Regions from separate parts of the Homo sapiens genome. Here region 1 is linked to region 2. The links are contacts of gene promoters, found by promoter capture Hi-C in blood cells and fetal thymus (Javierre and others, 2016). All regions are on one chromosome and are shown on one strand. The core of a region is centred on a gene start or on the middle of the fragment in contact, and the rest is flanking DNA. Distances in the headings are between cores, read along the strand shown. Region 1 has its middle 17 kb from the start of H2BC11. Region 2 holds the start of H4C11 (H4 clustered histone 11).

The links. The method cuts DNA at HindIII sites, captures the fragments that hold promoters and counts their contacts. A CHiCAGO score of 5 or more calls a contact.
Region 1: a contact is called between a fragment that was not itself captured here and the fragment with the promoter of H4C11 in region 2, in 1 of 17 cell types (naive CD8 T cells). The highest score is 5.1, in naive CD8 T cells.

The regions. Positions count from the first base shown.
Region 1 is chr6:27,113,348-27,118,200 of GRCh38, forward strand. No RefSeq gene overlaps it. Among named protein-coding and RNA genes, the nearest start is that of H2BC11, 17 kb to the right of the region's middle. RefSeq lists an enhancer at 1,864-1,963. The HindIII fragment of the contact is 4,621 bases long and covers 1,006-4,853 here.
Region 2 is chr6:27,821,916-27,827,006 of GRCh38, forward strand. H4C11 (H4 clustered histone 11) reads left to right here and starts at 2,177. Exons shown (of 1, transcript NM_021968.4): 1 at 2,177-2,565. The coding sequence starts at 2,210. The coding sequence ends at 2,521. RefSeq lists enhancers at 1,897-2,036, 2,330-2,971, 3,614-4,255, 4,256-4,899. The HindIII fragment of the contact is 1,481 bases long and covers 1,273-2,753 here.

The DNA.
Region 1 (4,853 bases), core at 2,066-4,565, 710 kb before region 2:
TAGGACTTTATCACTCCTGATTAGACTGGTTGGACTTATTTCCTCAGGCAGTATGGCATATAGGCTGGAGCTAGTTGGTTAAAGCAGAGGGGTGCCTGATGAACTTGGGATGGAATCCTGTAGTGGAGAACTGGCAGGACCCCCTTCCTCATATTAAGGCACCAAGGAGGCTCCAGGGAGAGTGAACCATTTTTAGGCCAAATTTCTTGGGAAATTAATTTGTACTAAACACTGTTATAATAGAAGATGAGTTTTTAAGACATCAAATTTGAATTTGCTTTAGTTGCCTAAAAGGCACCCTAGCAGGAAGTGTTTCAGGACGCTCACTGTTGTTATGTCTACCAGAGATACCTACTAAACCCAGAAATTCTTCCAAGTCCAGAGAGTCCAGTTACTTTTCCTTTCAAATTTCCACCTCCCTTTTCTTCAAGAGCAGTAGGGAAATTACCACTGACTCCTGCCAAAAGAACATGGGTATCAAGAAGTAGGTGCCACAAAAGTGAAAGATGAGTGGGCAGTGGGCTGGCAACTACCATCACTAGCTAATGGAATGTTACAAAGAAGGCACTTTAAGTATGGAAGTAAAAAAACGCTGACCAAATTAAGAACCCTTAGTGGAAATTTAAACCCCAATCTTAGAAAGGTGACCAAAAAACAAAGCCCCTAGGGCAGGACTCTCAATTCTAACGCCACGTAGAGTGGGACTGACAATAACCCAATAAATTCCCCCTAGAGTGGGACTCTAACCCAATCCTAGAAGGAACATGGCTCTGACATACAACCATGCATTTAGGAACTGAATGGTAATATCAAGTAGCCAGTCATTAGAGATTTAATAGACGATGGTCAAAAACGGGGCAATGGGGACATAATCTGAACATGGGACTAGCTGGAGGCCCCACTTTCATTTCCTGGTTTACCCAGAAAGGTCAATATGACAGGGAAATCACAGAAACCACATGGTGCCAATTGGCCATTAATTTGGGTCCAGGCAAAGGTTTCCAAAGCTTCAGTGTACAACCAGTTAGTCACCAAGAAAACATGGCTCTGAAAAGAGCCTTTGGCTAGTATATAGCATTACAGTATCACAACTCCAAACTTTATCTTGATGGTCAACCCGCTCATCTTGATGCTCCCTTCATGGTCTCTTCATTTTGATGGTTCCTTCCTTCAGGGTCACCAGGCTGACACAGGTGAACCCCAAAATTGGGACTTAACCCTGGAGGGCTTTTGGCTTCAGAGTTAATTTAAAAACACTTCCTAGACCAATAGTGTACAGCAAACTGCTCCATAAACAAAGGGCGACCTGTGTGCTAACCCACAGGCAGCACAGCCTGTAGTAGTAGTATACAGAAAAGTGGGTGCTCCACAGAGCACAAGCTAACCCACAGGCAGAGCAGCCAAGTAGCAGCATGCAGCAAAGTGGGCGCTCCACACAGCACAAGCTAACGCACAGGCAGAGCAGCCCAGAGTAGCAGCATGCAGCATAATAGGTGCTCCACAGAGCAAGGCTCACCCATAGAGCATCCCAGAGTAGCAGCATAGTACAGCAAAGCGGGTGCTCCACAAAGCAAGGCTAACCCATAGGCAGAGAAGCCTACAGCAACTGTGTACAGCAAGGTGGATGCTGCAGAAAGCACAACTAACCCACAGGCAGAACAGCCCAGAATAGCAGTGTACAGCAAAGTGGATGCTCCACCAGTAGAACAGACAGGAAGGGCAGGAGCAGTGTTCAGCAACAGGAGCAGTCCAGAGCAGGAGTCAGAGCAGGAGCCAGAACTGAAGAAAGAGCCACAGTAAAGCACACAGGCTAGCTATATTTATACCCACTATTAATTATATGCTAATTAAGTAGTGTGTTATTCAGAATTTTCTAGAAAAGGGGTGGGGGGAGCTCCCAGAACCCTATAGGGTAACTTCTGAGTCATGTCCATGGCATTTGTAAACTGTCATGGCGCCGATGGGAGTGTCTTTATTCTAATGAGCTGTGAGGGCAACTAGAGGTTGCTTTGTCACCATCTGCTGGTTTCAGCCAGCTGTTTTGTTTTGTTTTGTTTGAGACTGAGTCTGGCTCTATTGCCCAGGCTGGAGTGCAGTGGCTCGATCTTGACTCACTGCAACCTCCACCTCCCGGGTTCAAGCAATTCTCATGCCTCAGCCTCCCTAGTAGCTGGTATTACAGGTGCATGCCACCATGCCCAGCTAATTTTTGTATTTTTAGTAGAGATGGGGTTTCACCATATTGGCCAGGCTGGTCTCGAACTCCTGACCTTAGGTGATCTGCCCACATCAGCGTCCTGAAGTGTTGTGATTACAGGTGTGAGCCACTGCACCCAGCCAGGGTTTTTTGTTTTTGAGACAGGGTCTTGCTCTGTCGCCCCAGCTGGAGTGCAGTGGCACAATCGTAGCTCACTGCTGCCTTGATCTCCCAGGCTCAAGCAATCCTCCCACCTCAGCCCCACAAGCAGCTGAGACTACACATGTAGGCCACCATGTCTCGCTAATTTTTTTTTAACTTACATTTTTAGGGATGGAGTTCTCACTATGTTGCCCAGCTGATATCGAACTTCTAGGCTCAGGGGATCCTCCCACCTCAGCCTCTCAAAGCACTGGGATTATAGGTGTGAGCCACCACTCTGCTGAGGTTTTTTTGTTGTTTTTTTTTTACTGCATCCTGTTTTTGATCAGCATGGTCATTACCGGTGCTTGGAAAAGAAGTCCTGCTGATCTCCTACCTCACTTTGGAAAATTCTTTTCAAGATTAAGTATATGACTATTTATAAAGAACTTAGTACAGTGAGACCAATGATCAATTATTTAAAGTTGTTTTACTCTTGTTAGTGTCATTATTAAATTTTTTAATTCTTTTCATTATTCCGTATCCCATGTTGTTGTATTTTCACAGTGAATATGAGTCTGCATCCAGTTATGGCCAATGACTTCATATTCTTTTGTGATCTATGGAGTTTCAGATGTGAGTACATTCAGACAAGACAAGACCATCACAAACCACTGAGATATATTCATCTCTGCTGCTTGTGACCTGGGGTCCTCCTTCTTCCCCTCTGACTGCCACTATTGGGAGGCAGAAGTAGGAAGAACAACAGAATGGGCTGTGGGTGTAATTTTATCATTTTTTTTTAGAATTACTTTTTTTTTTTTTTACATTTTTGCTTTTAAAAATAGTTTTGCTAAAGTATAATTGGCATATGATAAACTGCACATAAAGTATACATGTTAATGAGTGTGACATAAGTATTCATATGAACCCGTTACCCTAATCAAGACACTGAACTTGCTGGGCACAGTGGTTCACGCCTGTAATCCCAGCACTTCAGGAGGCCGAGGCGGGCGAATCACCTGAGGTCAGGAGTTCGAGACCAGCCTGACTAACATGGTGAAACCCCATCTCTACTAAAAATACAAAAATTAGCCGGGCATGGTGGCATATGCCTGTAATCCCAACTACTCAGGAGGCTGAAGCAGGAGAATCACTTGAACCCGGGAGGCAGAGATGGCAGGGAGCCAAGATCACGCCATTGCACTCGAGCCTGGGCAACAGAGCAACACTCTGTCTCAAAAAAAAAAAAAAAAAAGTGAACTTATCACCTCTAAAATGTACTTGTCCCCCTTTGTAATACCTTTCTCCTATCTCACTTTGTCCCCCAACTCAAAGGAACCACTGATCTAACCTTTGTCACTGTAGATTAGTTTGTATTTTCTAGTTTTGTAAAAATAGAATCCAGTATGTACTGTATTTTGATCAGTTTCTTTTACTCAGCATAATTATTTACTCAGCAGTCCTTGCTGGTTTCATGATGTAAGTGGTCGTGTGGGGAAAGTCCACATGGCCAGGAGCTTCAAGCTCCTCTAGGAAGTGCGGGCAGCCTCTCAGAATTAAAGGCGTCTTCCAGCCAGCAACCAGCAAGAAGCGGGTGTCCTCATACCTAAAGCTGCAAGGAAATGAATTCCGCCAACAACCTGAGTGAGCTTGGACATGGATTCTTCCCCAGTCAAGTGTCTAGATGAGAATGCATCCTGGTGGGACACTTCAATTAGTCTTGTGAGACCCTAAGCAAAAGACCTAACTAAGTCATGCCCAGACTCCTGATCATTTATTATCCTGAGATAATAAACGTATGTTGTTTTGAGACCCTGAAGTTTGTGCTAATGTATTTTGCAGCAACAAAAAACTAACATATTTTAGGCTGGGCACAGTGGCTAACACTGTAATCCCAGTGCTTTGGGAGGCCTAGGTGGAAGGATCACTTGAGACCACTAGTTCAAGACCAGCCTGGGCAATAGTGAGAAACTGCACCACCCCCCCACAACCCCTCGTCTCCACAAAAAAATTTCTAAAAATTAGCTGGGTGTGGTGGCACACACTTATAGTCCCAGCTACTCAGGAGGCTGAGGCAGGAGGATGGTTTGAACCCAGAAGTTCAAGGCTACAGCGAGCTATGATTGCACCACTGTGCCCCAGCCTGGGTGACAAAGTGAGACTCCATCTCAAACAAAAAGAAAAAGAAGAGTAACATATTTTGAATCAACAGTTTGTTTCTTTTGTTGCTTAATAGTATTTCTTTGCAGGGATATACCACAATATTTTAGCCATTCATCTATTGATGAACATTTGGATTATTTCCAGATTTAACTAATACAAATAAAGCTGCTATGAGTATTTTTGTACAAATCTTTATATGGACACATATTTCCTTTTCTCTTGAGTAGATACCTAGAAGTGCCATGGCTGAATCATATGGTAGTATGATTAACAACATTAGTTATATGATTAACTTTTTAAGAACCTGTCAAAATGTTTTCCATAGTATTTACATGCATAGGACAAATTT
Region 2 (5,091 bases), core at 927-3,426:
ATCCAGAGCTTTTATGAGGGTTTTATTATATAGGCAGGATTGATTGAATCATTGACCATATGATTGAACTTGTTGGGGCACAGGGAAAGCTTCCCCTATGTACTCTGAAGCTTCACTGAAAATCACTGTCAAGAGGCAGATTAATAGAAGAAAAGGCATACACATTTATTTAACATGTACGCAGAAGCCTTCAGAATGAAGACCTAAAGATACAGGGGAAATTGTCCATTTTTATGCTTAGGTTCAACAAAGTATGGACAGCTATGTAGAAATATGACTGGACATAATGTGTATGATCTAATGCTAAGAGACTGAGTGGGGAAACCCAGCCAGGCCTGTCTAGATTCTTCTTGGGCGCTCTGTGTAGTATTTCTTTTGTATATGGGGCAGGGCCCTCTCTGGAACGGAGGTCCTACGACTTACAGTCAAACAAGGTAAGTCAAATAATTTCTTTGTGGCCAGTTTTTACACGAAAAAATAAAATTTTTAGGTTTCTTATTGTTTTTTTCTTTTCTTTTCTTTTCTTTTTTTTTGAGATGGAGTCTCACTCAGTTGTCTAGCCTGGAGTGCTGTGGTGTGATTTCGGCTCAATGTAAGCGCCGCTTCCCAGGTTCAAGAGATTCTCCTGCCTCACCCTCCTGAGTAGCTAATATTACAGGTATGTGACACCACGCCCAGTTAATTTTTGTATTTTTAGTAAAGACGGGGTTTCACCATGTTGGCCAGGTTGGTCTCGAAGTCCTGACTTTAAGTGACCTGCCTGCCTCAGCCTCCCTAAGTGCTGGGATTACAGGCATGAGCCAGCGCGCCCGGCCTAAACAAGCTTATATTAAAGATGACAATTTATTACTTATAAACAAATCAATAAATCTTGCTGGGTAACTAGTTCATTAACTCAAGACTCAATCAACAAAACTAAAAGTAAATTCTGAATGTAACATAGAATTTAAAAACCATAATACTCAATGCTGGTAAACATACACAGCAGTTACTGCTGGCAAAAGTGAATGGAATAAAACTTTTGAGGAAAATGTAGTAACAGTTATCAAAATACCTTAAAATCTGCATCCTTTGTGACAAAGCGCTTCAATTCTACATTTTCCTCAGGAAGTAAATTTTGTACAGTTCTCCTTTAAATTAGGAAAAGAAAATTAGCACATTATTGCTAAGTACTAGAAATACTGTGAAAGTGGACCTAGAAAATTCTTATGATGGAATATTAAGCAGATATAAATTACTGCTTTTAAAATTTTTCCTAATGTGAATTTTCTAAGCTTTTAACCGTGAACATAGATTCCCTTTGGCAAACCACCTTGATTAAATTATAGACAGAATAGAATTTTGGTAATAGTTCCGAGTATGTATAATGTTAAAGGTGGTACTTAATCCGCAGGGAAAAGATGAATTATTTAAAAAATCTGGTTGATTAATAAATTCCTAGGGAATTGGTTAACACTGTAGCAGGCAGAATTCAGGAGAAGAAATAATAAAGACATTAAAATCACTTTTGTAAACTTTTTAAATAAGGGAAATTGATTAAAACAACGCGAAGTTGTAAAATGCCATATACTGCATACATTTTGTGGGAAAAAATGTGCATTTATCTGCTCACCAAATTATCTTATTAGCTAGCAGTAGAGCTCTTTGTGTGATGGGAAGATGGGATAACAGGCTGTTGTTACTGTACTGGTTTTTTTTTTTAATATATTTAAAAAAAAGAGTGTCTCCTAAAGTGTAAGCGCTATCATGCTGGACTAATGTTTTAATTTAATTTAATTGTTGTCTTGGTAGAGATGGGGTCTCGCTATTTTGCTCACGCAGATCTCAAACTCCTGACGCCCAGGTACACTCCCATCTCGGCCTCCTAAAATGGTGGGATCACAGACGTCAGCCACCGAGCCCGGTCACTTTTTTGTATTCCCCACAGTATTGATGTATATCTTCTGCGTTCAAAAGCAATTTTTTAAAGCCTCATAACGTGGTAACAGAATACTTTGCACATTACAAAATTCAGAACACGGAAACAAGAAGCTCGCTTTTTTTTCCCCCCTATTTCGGTTTGGCCCTTTAGATTTCCCCTCCCCCACCGGGGCGGGACTTCCCGCCGACTTCTTTCAGGTTCTCAGTTCGGTCCGCCAACTGTCGTATAAAGGCGCTGCCTCAGGCCAGAGGCCTCACAAAGCGTTGGGTGAGACTCCTCTTGCTCGTCATGTCTGGCCGCGGCAAAGGCGGGAAGGGTCTTGGCAAAGGCGGCGCTAAGCGCCACCGTAAAGTACTGCGCGACAATATCCAGGGCATCACCAAGCCGGCCATCCGGCGCCTTGCTCGCCGCGGCGGCGTGAAGCGCATCTCCGGCCTCATCTACGAGGAGACTCGCGGGGTGCTGAAGGTGTTCCTGGAGAACGTGATCCGGGACGCCGTGACCTATACAGAGCACGCCAAGCGCAAGACGGTCACCGCCATGGATGTGGTCTACGCGCTCAAGCGCCAGGGCCGCACCCTCTACGGTTTCGGTGGTTGAGCGTCCCTTTCTATCAATAAAAGGCCCTTTTCAGGGCCACCCTACTTTCTCAGCTGAAGAGTGGTAACACTGAGGAGTGGTTTTGGTAGGTACGGAATTTTGCTTGGTTCTGAGTCAGTTCTGGGGGGAACAGTTTTTTGAACACAGCGGCACACGTGTGGCCATTCACCCGGGGTCACTGTAGGCAGGACTAATTACGAGATGTAATGTCTAAACTTGCTCAAAATTCGTAAGCTTGTTTACGTAATGGAGAAAATACTCGTACACAGAATGTGCAGTACCAGAAACGTTTATGTAACCCCCGTAGTGAGCTTGACAGTGGTAATCGGAAATCGTTTTTGAAAAGCCTCCAAATCCACAAGTATTTGTGGGTTTTTTTTGTTTCGTCTTTGTCTGCGAGTTGGAGTGCAGCGGCGCGATCTCGGCTCACTGCAACTTCCGCCTCCTGGGTTCAAGCGATTCTCCTGCCTCAGCCTGCCGAGTAGCTGGGATTACAGTTTTGCGCCACTACACCCAGCTAATTTTTGTATTAGTAGAGATGGGGTTTCACTATGTTGGCCAGGATGGTCTCGATCTCCTGACCTCGCGATCCGCCCGCCTTGGCCTCTCAAAGTGCGACCTCTTAAAGAATTTTAAGATAATTTTTTACTTTCCTCCACCCTCATTAAGGTATGACAACTTACATGTACAATCTGATCTGACATATATTCATTGTGTAATGATTACATCGAGCTTAACATCCACCTCACTTTCTGTGGTGAGAACATTTAAGGCCTATCAGCAATTTTCCAGTATCAAGTACATTAACTATTATCACCATGCTTTAAAGTAGATCTCCAGTATTTATACCTCCCGAGTCCCATTGTTACCTCCATCCTTGTTCTCTGGCAATGACAATTTTACTCAGTTCAACATTTTTAGATTCCTCATGTAAGTGAGATCACGCAGTTTTTGTTTTTCTGTGCCTAGTTTGTTTTACTTTGCATAATGGTCTCCAGTTTCATCTATAAGAAATGACAAGATTTATTTTAAGGCTGAGTAGTATTTCATTGTATATATGCCCCATTTTCCTTATCCATTCATCTGGCATTGGACACTTGATTTGAGTTTAAATTCATAAATGGAATCTAGTGAGTAAAAGCTATTTTTTGTTTTCTTTTTGGTGAGGTTCAGTCACTTATTGTTATGATGATGAAAATGATGGATGTGTCATTGGTGACATCAAAAGATCTGGAAGGACAATAATAGTCGCATTGATTCAGTTGAAGCAAAAGTACAAAACTCTGTAGTCCAAGTAATTACCACAAAGGAATTGTAATCATACTTTTTTTTTAATTTGAATTTTTGTTAAGGGAAAAAAATTGTATTTTACATGAAAAACAATTATTTATTTATTTATTTATTTATTTTATTGATCATTCTTGGGTGTTTCTCACAGAGGGGGATTTGGCAGGGTCATAGGACAATAGTGGAGGGAAGGTCAGCAGATAAACAAGTGAACAAAGGTCTCTGGTTTTCCTAGGCAGAGGACCCTGCGGCCTTCCGCAGCGTTTGTGTCCCTGGGTACTTGAGATTGGGGAGTGGTGATAGGCGGTGATAGGTGAGATAGGCGGTTTTTCCCCATCTCAGTAGATGGAACGTACAATCGGGTTTTATACCGAGACATTCCATTGCCCAGGGACGGACAGGAGACAGTTGCCTTGCTCTTGTCTCAACTGCAAGAGGCATGCCTTCCTCTTATACTAATCCTCCTCAGCACAGACCCTTTACAGGTGTCGGGCTGGGGGACGGTCAGGTCTTTCCCTTCCCAAGAGGCCATATTTCAGACTATCACATGGGGAGAAACCTTGGACAATACCTGGCTTTCCTAGGCAGAGGTCCCTGTGGCCTTCTGCAGTGTTTGTGTCCCTGGGTACTTGAGATTAGGGAGTGGTGATGACGCTTAAGGAGCATGCTGCCTTCAAGCATCTGTTTAACAAAGCACATCTTGCACCGCCCTTAATCCATTTAACCCTGAGTTTGACACAGCACATGTTTCAGAGAGCACAGGGTTGGGGGTAAGGTCACAGATCAACAGGATCCCAAGGCAGAAGAACTTCTCTTAGTACAGAACAAAATGAAAAGTCTCCCATGTCTACCTCCTTCTACACAGACACGGCAACCATCCGATTTCTCAATCTTTTCCCCACCTTTCTCCCCTCTCTATTCCACAAAGCCGCCATTGTCATCCTGGCCCGTTCTCAATGAGCTGCTGGGCACACCTCCCAGACGGGGCCGTGGCCGGGCAGAGGCACCCCTCACGGCCCGGATGGGGCGGCTGGCCGGGCGGGGGGCTGACCCCCCCACCTCCCCCCCGGACGGGGCGGCCGGCCGGGCAGAGGGGCTCCTCACTTCCCAGTAGGGGCGGCCGGGCAGAGGCGCCCCTCACCTCCCGGACGGGGCGGCTGGCCGGGCGGGGGGCTGACCCCCCCACCTCCCTCCCGGACGGGGCGGCTGGCCGGGTTGGGGGCTGACCCCCCCACCTCCCTCCCGGATGGGGCGGCTGGCCGGGCAGAGGGGCTCCTCACTTC